Linked DNA regions of Homo sapiens: all the other regions are linked to region 1. The links are contacts of gene promoters, found by promoter capture Hi-C in human tissues and cell types (Jung and others, 2019). All regions are on one chromosome and are shown on one strand. The core of a region is centred on a gene start or on the middle of the fragment in contact, and the rest is flanking DNA. Distances in the headings are between cores, read along the strand shown. Region 1 holds the start of CACNA2D4 (calcium voltage-gated channel auxiliary subunit alpha2delta 4). Region 2 overlaps ADIPOR2 (adiponectin receptor 2). Region 3 overlaps ADIPOR2 (adiponectin receptor 2).

The links. Contacts are between HindIII fragments. The study calls those that stand out against the background at their distance.
Region 2: a fragment that was not itself captured here is called in contact with the fragment with the promoter of CACNA2D4 in region 1 in 1 of the 25 tissues and cell types used here (spleen).
Region 3: a contact is called between a fragment that was not itself captured here and the fragment with the promoter of CACNA2D4 in region 1, in 2 of the 25 tissues and cell types used here (IMR-90 fibroblasts and aorta).

The regions. Positions count from the first base shown.
Region 1 is chr12:1,916,649-1,920,624 of GRCh38, reverse strand. It overlaps CACNA2D4 (calcium voltage-gated channel auxiliary subunit alpha2delta 4), which reads left to right and starts at 1,973. Exons shown (of 38, transcript NM_172364.5): 1 at 1,973-2,378. The coding sequence starts at 2,152. RefSeq lists an enhancer at 3,324-3,900. The HindIII fragment of the contact is 9,283 bases long and covers 1-3,976 here.
Region 2 is chr12:1,692,112-1,696,087 of GRCh38, reverse strand. The region is part of intron 1 of ADIPOR2 (adiponectin receptor 2); the gene reads right to left. Among named protein-coding and RNA genes, the nearest start is that of ADIPOR2, 3.0 kb to the right of the region's middle. The HindIII fragment of the contact is 3,880 bases long and covers 1-3,840 here.
Region 3 is chr12:1,754,737-1,758,712 of GRCh38, reverse strand. The region is part of intron 2 of ADIPOR2 (adiponectin receptor 2); the gene reads right to left. It also overlaps the pseudogene RPS4XP14. Among named protein-coding and RNA genes, the nearest start is that of LRTM2, 64 kb to the left of the region's middle. The HindIII fragment of the contact is 4,565 bases long and covers 1-3,976 here.

The DNA of each region.
Region 1 (3,976 bases), core at 724-3,223:
ACTATGTGATGACTTCCCTTCTGTGAGGTCCCTAGAACCGTCAACATCAGAGATACAGAAAGGAGAGTGGTGGCCGCCAGCGGCTGGGGGAGGAGGGAACGGGAGCTAGTGTTTAATGGGTTCAGAGTTTCAGTTTTACAAGATGAACGAATTATAGAGATAGATGGCGGCGAAGGTGGAGCAACATGATTAATGTATTTAATTACACTAAACCGTACACTTAAAAAGATGATTAAGATGGCACATTTTATGCCACAATAAATATTGGGCCACAATAAAAAAGTTGAAAAAAGGTGAATATTTATTCAGTTTTAAAAATCATTCCAAATTACAAATTTTAAGAAGCTGGTGAATTCCACCAAATTCACAAAACCTAGAGAAGTTACATTCTTTTTATGTATTGACTGCCCAGTGTGCCTCTGTAGTATTTTTTCTAAATGTGTTTGATTTGTAATCCTCAAAACATGTACAAAATTTATGTGAAATTAAGGCATTCATAGGAATCATTTAGATGCCTTTAAAAAATACATTGTATTCAGCCACAAAACTGTGCCACCAGATTACTCTGATACTACAGCACTGACTTATTGATGAATCTGTGTAGGAGTTTTGTCATCAGAACACTTGCTTCTGCAAGCATTTCTCTGCGTTGGTGGCAATTTTGCTTACCATTTTGCTGGAACCACCAGATTTTGTGAAGACACAGTGCACCAGTTACACTAAGAAAATAATCTGATACGGGGACTGCATAAAATCTATGACTTCACCCCCGGAGAACCCATGTGGTACTACTACTGGTTTGGGCTCACAACACAAGAATTTTGATCAATTCTAATTTGTGTAACTCTCATCAGAACACAAAGCAATGTACGGTGTAATTATATTCTTTCAATATCCACTATTTTCCTAACAGGAGAGAACTTCTGTCCTGGCCAGGCCTTGGTGAGAACCAAATCCTCCACCAACGATGTTACCTGTGTGGCTTTTTGTAGATTTTCTGCAGATGAGCTCCTGACTGTTACTTTGCCCTCCCCACCACACATGGCCAGGGTGGGTGTGACAGCGTGCGCTCACATCACGGCCCAGCCTCTCTTGCTGCATCTGCTGGTGGGATGTCCTGTGGGATGAGTGTTCCTGGAAGCCCTGCCTACACTCAGCTGGAGGTAACTTCTCTGTACAAAGAAGTCACTGTGAACCATGTCAGCATATCCCACTAAGCCCAGATTAAGTGTTTCCCCAGCTCACTTTCCTCTTAACTGGATCCCCCAAGTGCCCTCAGCCACCCAAACATCATCCAACTAAGAGTCCCTCAGACGGAAGAGAAGTTGGGATGGAAAGAGACAGACAGTCTCAACCGGTTATGGTTAAACTATCTCAACTTTTGCATATTTTACAAAAACATTTGGCCACAGGAACACATTGCTAGGGCCTCTCCGGGAAAGGGGGGAGTCTGTGGATTCAGGGGTCCTGAAGCTTCATCAGTTGCACAGCAAATGCGTCCCCAGCCCCGCCCACGAGCAGCTGAGATGTGGAGGCGTGGGTCCACTGACTTCACCTATGACCTATGACCTGTCCCAAAGGCACCAGGCCTGGAAACACCAGCCAGAGTCCCAGCTCTGCCCCTGGGACTCCCCGGGCCTCAAGAGCCTCTGCCAAGCAGGGATGAGGACACACCCCCACCTCAGGGTCAACAAGAGATTTGTGGGTCAATCAGAGTACTGTGCAAACTCAGCTGCTGTCCTCTGGCCATAGTCACAGCAAGCCCTTCCTGGGTCCAGAAGGTGGTTCCACAGGAACGGGGCTGCCTCTTTAAAGCAGAGGGGTGCACTATAGCCCTGAGGGAACCAGCTGCAGTTGTGGTAATCTTGGGAGGCAGCTCCCCACCCCCTGCCACCCCCTCCCTGCTGTCAGGAGAGGATTAGAGGAGAGGCCAGCGGATTAAAGGGTTTCATGTTGCCACAGCCTCTCCCCCAGTCCCTGTCTCCGAGGCCTGCTTGCTAGGTGGGGCGACTCTTCTGTGAGCTGCAGCTGTGGGGCAGAGAGAAGCCCTCCCCACCCAGGACTGAGAGGCTGGAGACCCCAGGCTCGCCAAGGCACGGAAGACAAAGGCCTGGGGCGTCCTGGGGTCTGGGAGGAAGGCAGACAGAGCTCATGGTCTGTGGCTGCTCTGCCCTCCTTCCCCTCCCCAACCCCAGGCCCACCATGCCTGCAACTCCCAACTTCCTCGCAAACCCCAGCTCCAGCAGCCGCTGGATTCCCCTCCAGCCAATGCCCGTGGCCTGGGCCTTTGTGCAGAAGACCTCGGCCCTCCTGTGGCTGCTGCTTCTAGGCACCTCCCTGTCCCCTGCGTGGGGACAGGCCAAGATTCCTCTGGAAACGTAAGCATCACGTTCAACCCCACCCCAAAAACCCGGTCACCCTTTCCCACTTTCTTCCCGGGCTGGGCCTCCATCCTCTGCCCACTCCTCCCGCCCCTGCCCTCCCTCTGGGCTTTTCCCCAGTGGCTGCGACTGACCACTCTCTTGCTGTAAAGCCCTTTGCTTCTCCGGCCTCCTCTTTCTCCTCCCAAAAGCTCTGTGAGTTCTGGAGTCCCACCTGCCTCTCCCCAGGAGCCGGATGGCTTTAGGAAGAACTGATCATCAGGGCTGCTGTCTTCCTGGCCTGACAAGCAGCTTCTGGGACACCTGAAGGGCGGGTGCTCCTTCAGGATAATCGCTGAGATGAGGCAGCCTGGAGGAGCCGGGTTATCTCAGCATCGCAGCTCCCCGAAGCATTTGGCAGGAAATGCGTATTTTGACATTCCAAAAAGGGGAAGCAGTTCTGAACCCACAGAACGTCTCATGCGCACAGGAGGTGGCTTGTCCAGGAACTGGGGAAAAAAATGGATTTTGGTGGCCGCAGTCTTCCCTTTCTACACCTTTCTGCCTCCTTCCAACCTTGATTCTCTAGCCGGCCATTAAGACCGGCTCCAGGAAAGAACCCGGTATCAGTCATGTGCACCTTGGTGTACATGTAAATTACTGTGCAACCTCTCTGGGGTGTCTGTGTTTTAGGCCCTAGCTCAGGTGGTCCTAGGAAGGAAATTTCCAATACATGTGGGTAGCAGAGCCTTCTAGACTGTAGGTGCTACAGACCCCATCCTGTTTACTCCAGCCGCTTGAGCCCAGCACCATAGCCAGGCCACCAACAGAGCCACCTGCCAACTGCATGTCTTAGCAGGAGTGGGGACAGGGAGCCTAAATGACACACCGTGCCTGTGCTTAGCCTTTGCTGACCAGTGGATTAGGCAGCATCGTTTCCCATCGAGCCGCATAGCTCTCCTTGTTCCCTGCCTGGCACGGAGCTGGGCGCTTCACAAATGACACCGTTAGTTTGCAGAGCCATTCAGTGGGGGCTTATTTTTATCCCTATTTTGCAGCTGAGGAAACAGAGGCCCCGAGAGGTCAGGTGACTTCCCCAAGTTCACAAGGCCAGGAAGTGAAGGTGCTGGGATTTGAACTCCTGTCAGCCTGGACTGCACTTTCACCATTACACCCGCCGCCAGCCCGTAACGCTATCTGTTGCTGCAGGAGATGTTCAGAACAATTTTCATCCCCAGAACACACACCAGCTGATAGGAGAGGGCCAACTCCAGGAGTGGGCTGAGGGCCAAGTCGGGGTGGCTGGAATCCAGGCCTTCAGGGAGGGGGGCCCCAGCGGCCATCTATGCAGAAGCCCTGGGTGCTGCCAGAGACAACAGCCTGCACACAGCCTCATCTGCCTGCCCAGGACTTGGCCCCACCTGTCCTCACTCCCGCCGAACCTCTCTTCTCAGTCTTTCCCTCCAGCCGGGCTTCCACCTCCTCCCAAGTCTGTTTCCACAGGGTTCCCAAAGCCCTCCTCATGCCCAATCCAGGAGACATTCCTGGCCTTGTCACCCCAGACCCTGTTGCTTGGGACACACAAGCCCCCGTCTTCTTTTATCCCAGTCCTTGAC
Region 2 (3,976 bases), core at 651-3,150, 220 kb after region 1:
TAAAAAGCCAAAGTCTGACAAGGAGACATGACTAGCAACTGCAATGGCTGGACAGACCAAAAAGAATTTATGAGGAAGAAAACCAAAATGAATCATTTTCCAAATCCAGAGATAAAGAGAAAAAAGAAGAACTTTGATGATTAGGTATAGCCAGAATGTCCCGTCAAAAAAAATAAGCATTCCTTTGGGGAAAAGCTGCTGCCACTATGAGATACACTTAAAAAAAAAAATAGAAAAATAAAAAGAGAGAAAAAGTAACATCCAAGCCAGCCTTCCATTCCCAAAATAAATTGTCATTAATCTGAAAATTAGTAAATCAAGAATGTTTACATTAGAAAGTCCAAAAGCACTATATCCTGAAAACCACCAAAAAAGGTGAATGACTGCTGAATGACGGGTTTCGTCATTTTTTTTTTTTTTTTTTGAGATGGAGTTTTGCTCCTGTTGCCCAGGCTAGAGCGCAGTGGTGCAATCTCGGTTCACTGCAACCTCCACCTCCCAGTTTCAAGCGATTCTCCTGCCTCAGCCTCCTGAGTAGTTGGGATTACAGGCGCGCGCCACCATACCCAGATAATTTTTTTTTTAATATATTTTTGGTAGAGAGGGGGTTTCATTCATGTTGGCCAGGCTGGTCCCGAACTCCTGACCTCAGGTGATCCACCTGCCTTGGCCTCCCAAAGTGCAAGGATTACCGACGTTAGCCACCACCCTCAGCCCACTTTTTTTTTTTTTTAAGAGACAGAGTCATGCTGTGTTGCCCAGACTGGTCAGAGTCATGCTGTGTTGCCCAGACTGGTCTCAAACTCCTAGCCTCAAGCAATCCTCCCACCTCAACCTCCCAAGTAGCTGGAACTACAGGCGCAAGCCACCACTGGGCTTGATCCCATTTTTGTAAAAAATAACTCTCGGCCAAGTGCAGTGGCTCATGTCTGTAACCCTAACACTTTGGGAGGCTAAGGTGGGAGGATCGCTTGAGCCCGGGAGGTCGAGGCTGCAGAGCCATGACGGCACCAGTGCACTCCAGCCTGAGATACAGAGTGAGATCTTAAAAAAACAAAACAAAAAAAAAAAAAAAACTGCAACACAAAGAATAAGCCCTATGTAAACTATAGACCAATAAATAACAACATATTGATATGGGCTCATCAAATGCAATAAATGTGCCAAATTAATGCAAGATGTTTGCAATAGGAGAAACGAGGGAAGGGAAGGGAATATGGGAACTTTCTGTGCTATCGGCTCAAATTTCTGTACATCTAAAGCTGCTAAAAAAAAGTGTAATTTTTAAATTCTGAATATGCAGACAAATCTGCAAATAATTACTTGTATATGCACACAAAGAGAGGTGAAAAGACCTATATCAAACTGTTGCCCCTGGTTATCTACAAAGGATGAAAACTGGAAACTAGCGCATGAGAAGGAATTTTTTTACATTATACAGTTGGCCCTCCATATCCATGGGCTCTTATGTCTGTGGATTCAACCAAGCTTGGATCCAAAAAGTTTAATATAGCATCTGTATTTGAAACATGCAGACTTTTTTTTCTTGTCTTTATTCCCCAAACAATACAGTATAACAACTATTTACATAGCATTTATATTCTATTAGGTATTATAAGTAATCTAGAAATGATATAAAGTATTTGGGAGGATATGCACAGGTTATATGCAAATACTATGCCATTTATATCAGAGATTTGAGCATCTGTGCATCTTGATATTCACCAAAGGTCCTAGAAGCAGTCCCTACAGACACCAAGGGATGACAGTATATCTCTGGACTGTCTAAACTTTCTACACTGAGCAATAATGTAAGTAGAGGCTCTGTAGCATATTGTTAAGAATTTGGGTTTCTCAAATCAGACTGCATGAAATCAAATCCTAGCTCCACCATTTGCTAGCTGATAAACTTCCAACAGTTACTTAATTTTTCTCCTTGCCTTAGTTTCCTCACCTGTAAAACAGAAATCATAGTATACACTCACAGAGCTGCCACAGCAATTAAATAATTTCATACACGTAAAGTAGTGGAAATTGTCTAGTACATAGTAAGTGCTCAATAAATGTTAACCAGCATCTTCATTACCAAGCATTTATTATTCCTGGATTTTCTTTTTAAATCTTGACTGGTAAGACTAATCATGAAAACCCGGTTCATAAGCCCCTTTCTAGAAAGACCTCCAATGCAGAAAATACAAAAGCAATCAAAATCCAAATACAAATAATGAAATACTTCTTAAAAAAGCAGATTACAGGGCTGGGCACGGTTGCTCACACCTGTAATCCCAGCACTTTGAGGGGTGAGGCAGGTGGATCACATGAGGAGTTCGAGACCAGCCTGGCCAACATGGTGAAACCCCGTCTCTACTAAAAATACAAAAAAAAAATTGGCCGGGCTTGGTGGCGCACACCTGTAATCCCAGCTACTAGGGAGGCTGAGGCAGGAGAATTGCTTGAACCCAGGAGGCAGAGGTTGCAGTGAGCCAAGATCGTGCCATTGCACTCCAGCCTGGGCAACAAGAACGAAACTCCGTCTCAAAAAACAAAATGAACAAAAAAAAAAAAAAGCAGATTACAAACCAACATTTATCAATTTGAGTTCATTTATATAAAAAATAATCACCAACAAATTCTATAATCACAGAAAAAAAGCCCCAAGTGGTGTACTTGTAAATAACTTTTACTTTCTCCTTTACAATTTTCTGACTCATTTAAATTTTCAACATTGACTATGTATCATTTTTAATGGAGCTCGGCAAACTTTTTATATTAAGGTCCACATAGTAAATAAATATAAGGTGTTACAGGCCACATGGCTCTCTGGCACAACTACTCAACTCTGCTGCTGTACCCCAAAAGAAACTACAGACAATACCTAAACGACTGCATATGGCTATGTTCTAATAAAAACTTTTTTCTTCCTCTTTTTTTTAAGACGGAGTTTCGCTCTTGTTGTCCAGACTGGAGTGCAATGGTGCAATCTTGGCTCACTGCAACCTCTACCTCCCGGGTTTAAACGATTCTCCTGCCTCAGCCTCCCGGGCAGCTGGGATAACAAGAGTGCGCCACCACACCCGGCTAATTTTTGTAGTTTTAATAGGGACGGGGTTTCACCATGTTGGCCAAGCTGGTCTCAAACTCCTGATCTCAGGTTATCTGCCCGCCTCGACCTCCCAAAGTGCTGGGATTACCAGCGTGAGCGATCGCACCAGGCCTAATCAAATCTTTATTTACAAAAAGAGGCAACTGGCAGGACTGGGCCTGCAGGCTTTAAAATCTGTCAATCCCTGAAATAAAGAATAAAACAAAATTATTTTCATTTTAGGAAACAAAATGTGATTTATACTAAAAAAAAAAAGTGCACCAGCTAAATTGATACTATTGATAGAAAAAACCATTTATTTATAAATTCATACAAGGAGCCTAGGGATAGAAAAAAAAAACAAACTCTCTTTTAGGCTCTGGAAATCCTACTCCCATTCCTAGTGTCAAGTGAAAAGAGGAAATCTGCTAAGCAGACCAAAGTCTAGATAGGAACGTATACTGGAGGACAGACAGTTACAATCAGAAGTTAAAAGAAATATGCCTTTCACATTTAATTTGCAATTTTTTCAAATTTCATAATTCACCAACAAGCAGCTGCCACATGTGTGGAAATCTTTACTGATGAAATAATTTTAGTTGCAGATCATCACAATCAACACTCTGACAACAAATTTATCAGAACGGATGAAAACATCTAGGAATTACCTAAGAGTCGTTTAAGGAGACATAAGGGTGGCCTTTGATAAGAGGTCACTTCAAACTTTCAGAACTGACAAGACGTATAGCCTCCCCCCAAAAAATAATGCTATGGGTAGATGGATGCTTTTTTCTGAAGGAATTTTTAGCATTTCATTTGGAAAAGTTCTGTGATCAAATAATGCTAAATGTTATGACAGCTTTCTTGGCGTTTAAAGGGATTCTCTGGGTGAGG
Region 3 (3,976 bases), core at 522-3,021, 160 kb after region 1:
CATATGGAACTCCTCAAATCATGTGAAGATATCAATATTTTGCCTTTAATTTCAGTCTCAAAACTGCAGTTCTCTATAACTCTTATCTATCCCCCTTCTTTTCTAGCTCCCATGTGTAGTATACATTAACCGTGAAATTGGCAGCAAGGGACAGTACTGCATATAGATTCTCTTTTTCAGCAAACAACTTCAACTCCAAAGAGAAACAACATACACACGCAAATTTTCATTAGGAATAAAAACACAATTTCCTCACTGGTAAATTGAGGAAGGCAAACAAGATGATTTTGGAAGGCCTTTTCAGCTCTAACATTCCACAACCTATGGATCCTTTCTTTCCTTGGCTCCTCATAGAAAAATCTATTAAAACAAATGAAAGAAAAAATGGTTCTTTTGTTCATACTGCTAACTTTTGCATTAGCTCAAGATAAAAGGAAAATCAAAGAGAGGCTTTCAGGGCAATAAATGAGTTCATTCATAAGGATGGGAAAAATCCCATCCACCTAATTATTTATTAGTGAAATTAAAACACAAATATTATTTACAGAAGATACCACTTCAACCAGTGAAGACAGGAAACAAAAATATATAGTATTACAACACATAAAAAAATCAATTAATGTAAATCTGACACAAAAGTGATTGGGTGGGCAAGTTCTGGACTCTAAAAATATATTTTGCTTTCCCTGCCTAACGCAGCCATGGCGCGTGGTCCCAAGAAGCATCTGAAGTGGGCAGCAGCTCCAAAGCATTGGATGCTGGATAAATTGACCGGTGTGTTTGCTCCTCGTCCATCCACTAGTCCCCACAAGTTGAGAGAGTGTCTCCCCATCATATTCCTAAGGAACAGACTTAAGTAAGCCCTGACAGGAGATGAAGTAAAGAAGATTACATGCAGAGGTTCATTAAGATCGATGGCAAGGTCCGAACTCATATAACCTACCCTGCTGGATTCATGGATGTCATCAGCATTGACAAGACGGGGGAGAATTTCCGTCTCATCTATGACACCAAGGGTCGCTTTGCTGTACATCCTATTACACCTGAGGAGGCCAAATACAAAGTGAGAAAAATCTCTGGGGGCACAAAAGGAATCCCTCATCTGGTGACTCATGATGCCCGGCACCATCCGCTACCCTGATTCCCTCATCAAGGTGAATGATACCATTCAGACAGATTTGGAGATTGGCAAGATTACCAATTTCATCAAGTTTGACAATGGTAACCTATGCATGGTGACTGTAGGTGCTAACCTGGGAAGAACTGGTGTGATAACCAACAGAGAGAGGCACTCTGGATCTTTTGATGTGGTTCACATGAAAGATGCCAATGGAAACAGCTTTGCCACTCAACTTTCCAACATTTTTGTTATTGGCAAGGGCAACAAACCACAGACTTCTCTTCCCTGAGGAAAAGGGTATCTGCCTCACCATTGCTGAAAAGAAAGACAAAAGACTGGCGACCAAACAGAGCAGTGGGTGAAATGGTCCCTGGGTGACATGTTAGATCTTTGTACGTAATTAAAAATAATGTAGCATGATAAACAGAATTTTATTGCCATTATGAATCTCAAATTGGCTAGCCTGAAATTCTTTCAAGCTTGAAAATTCCTTAGATTCCTTAATAACAGTTCAGTTTTAAAAATAGTTAAGAAACAGAGGTAAATAAAAATCTAATCGTGACACAGTTACTGACTCCTCAATATATCTTCTAAGATATCTAACAAGAATCTTGAATCTCACATTTCCAAAACACCACTCTTGATTTCCCTACCTTAAACCCGCTCTTCCCTCTTGCTTTACCATTTCAGTTCAGCTCAGAGAATCAGCCTTGATTCCTCTATTTTCCTCACTCTACAGCTAATCCATCAGGAAGTCTTGTTGATTTGACCCACAAAATATATCCAGAATCCAACCATTTCCCTCCATTTCTGCTGCTCCCACCATGCTGTTTCAAGTGACATCATCTCTCATCTATATTCTAACACCTGGGTCCCTCTTCCATTCTGTCTTCAAATAATCCATTCCACAACCAGAGTCATACTTTTAAAAACACAAATGTCTCCATGTTTAAACACCCCAAAAGCTGCCCACGTGCCAGGCAATTTTATTAAAATAAAATTTAAATTCCCTGAATAAACCTGTATAATCTGTTCTCTGACTGGCCCACTGACCTTATCTCATTTCACTCTTCCCTCTAGTTCCTCATGCTCTAACTACACTGGCCTTCTTTTGGTCCTTTAAAAAAAAAAAAAAAAAAAGAAGGCCAGGCACAGTGGCTCACGCTTGTAATCTCAGCAATTTGCGGGGCCAAGGTGGCGGATCACTTGAAGTCAGGAGTTTAAGACCAGCCTGGCCAACATGGTGAAACCCCGTCTCTACTAAAAATACAAAAATTAGCCGGATGTGGTTGCGCAGGCCTGTAGTCCCAGCTACTCGGAAGGCTGAGACAGGAGAATCACTTGAACCTGGGAGGCGGAGGTTGCAGTGAGCCGAGATGGTGCCACTGCACTCCAGCCTGGGCAACAGAGCGAGACTCTATCTCAAAAAAAATATAATTATAATAATAAAATAAAGGAGAAGATGAAAGAAGAGAAAGATGATACAAGCAGGCGCAGGTGGTGGTGGGAGGCAGGAGGGGAAGGCAAGGAAGATAAGCATATTCCCACCTTTGGACCTTGGCACTAGCTTGTTTCCTCTACCTTGAAACACTCTTCCCCCAGCTGCTGTTCCCAGTAGAAGCTTTCAAAATGTTAACCACAACCCGTAGTAAGAAATGTATTTCATATTATTATTCATATTTATATACATAACTATATAAAACTAAAACAATTTAAATGTGTATTACTTACTATATACACACTTCAATGTTTTTATTCTATTTTGATCTTTAATTTTTAACACTTTATAATACAATTAATTTCAAAACCCACTAATAGGTACAACCCAAAGTTTGAGAAACACTGTACTAGTAATAAAACATTAAACACATGCTATATAATTTGGAAGTTCCAAAGCACATAGCAAAATGTCTGTAACAATGACTTTCTGATACTTCTGCTCTATAGGTATAGTTGCCTAAAGGTTGCTCTTTTCTCTAGGAAATGAAAGAATAAAATCTGCTTCAGCTTTCAGAACTCTACTGACTCCCAAGGTATACACTGGAGGTAAACAATTTCTGGAAAAGTAGCTCTAACACGCAATTCGAATTTCTCCAAAAATAACAGATAACGTCATAGCTAAAGTATGGTTAAATTAGATTATATGGTACCCATAGACCACGTCTTCTCCCTTCAACAAGATAAAGCAGGTTAAGTACGCTTTTAAGAGTCAGCAGAGGCCGGGCGCAGTCGTTCACGTCTATAATCCCAGCACTCTGGGAGGTTGAGGCAGGTGGATAAGGAGGTTGAGATGGAGACCATCCTGGCCAACATGGTGAAACTCCATCTCTACTAAAAATACAAAAAGTAGCCAGGCGTGGTGGCAGGTGCCTGTAATCCCAGCTACTCGGGAGGCTGAGGCAGGATAATCACTTGAACCTGGAAGGTAGAGGTTGCAGTGAGCTGAGATCGCACCACTGCACTCCAGCCTGGCGACAGAACAAGACTCCGTCTCCGAAATTAAAAAAAAAAGAGTCAGCAGAAAGACATTAACCATAAAATCAAAATCAAATAATATCTAAGCTAATTTAAGAATAAGAAGCTGGGCACGATGACTCATGCCTGTAATCCCAGCACTTTGGGAGGCCGAGGTGGGAGGATACCTGAGGTAAGGAGTTCGAGACCAGCCTGGCCAACATGGCAAAACCTCATCTCTGCTAAAGCTACAAAAATTAGCCTGGCATGGTGGCATGTACCTGTAGTCGAGGCAGGAGAATCGCTTGAACCCAGGAGGCGGAGGTTGCAGCGAGCCGAGATCATGCTACTGCACTCCGCCTGGGTGACAGAGCGAGACTCCGTCTCAATAGTAGTAGTAGT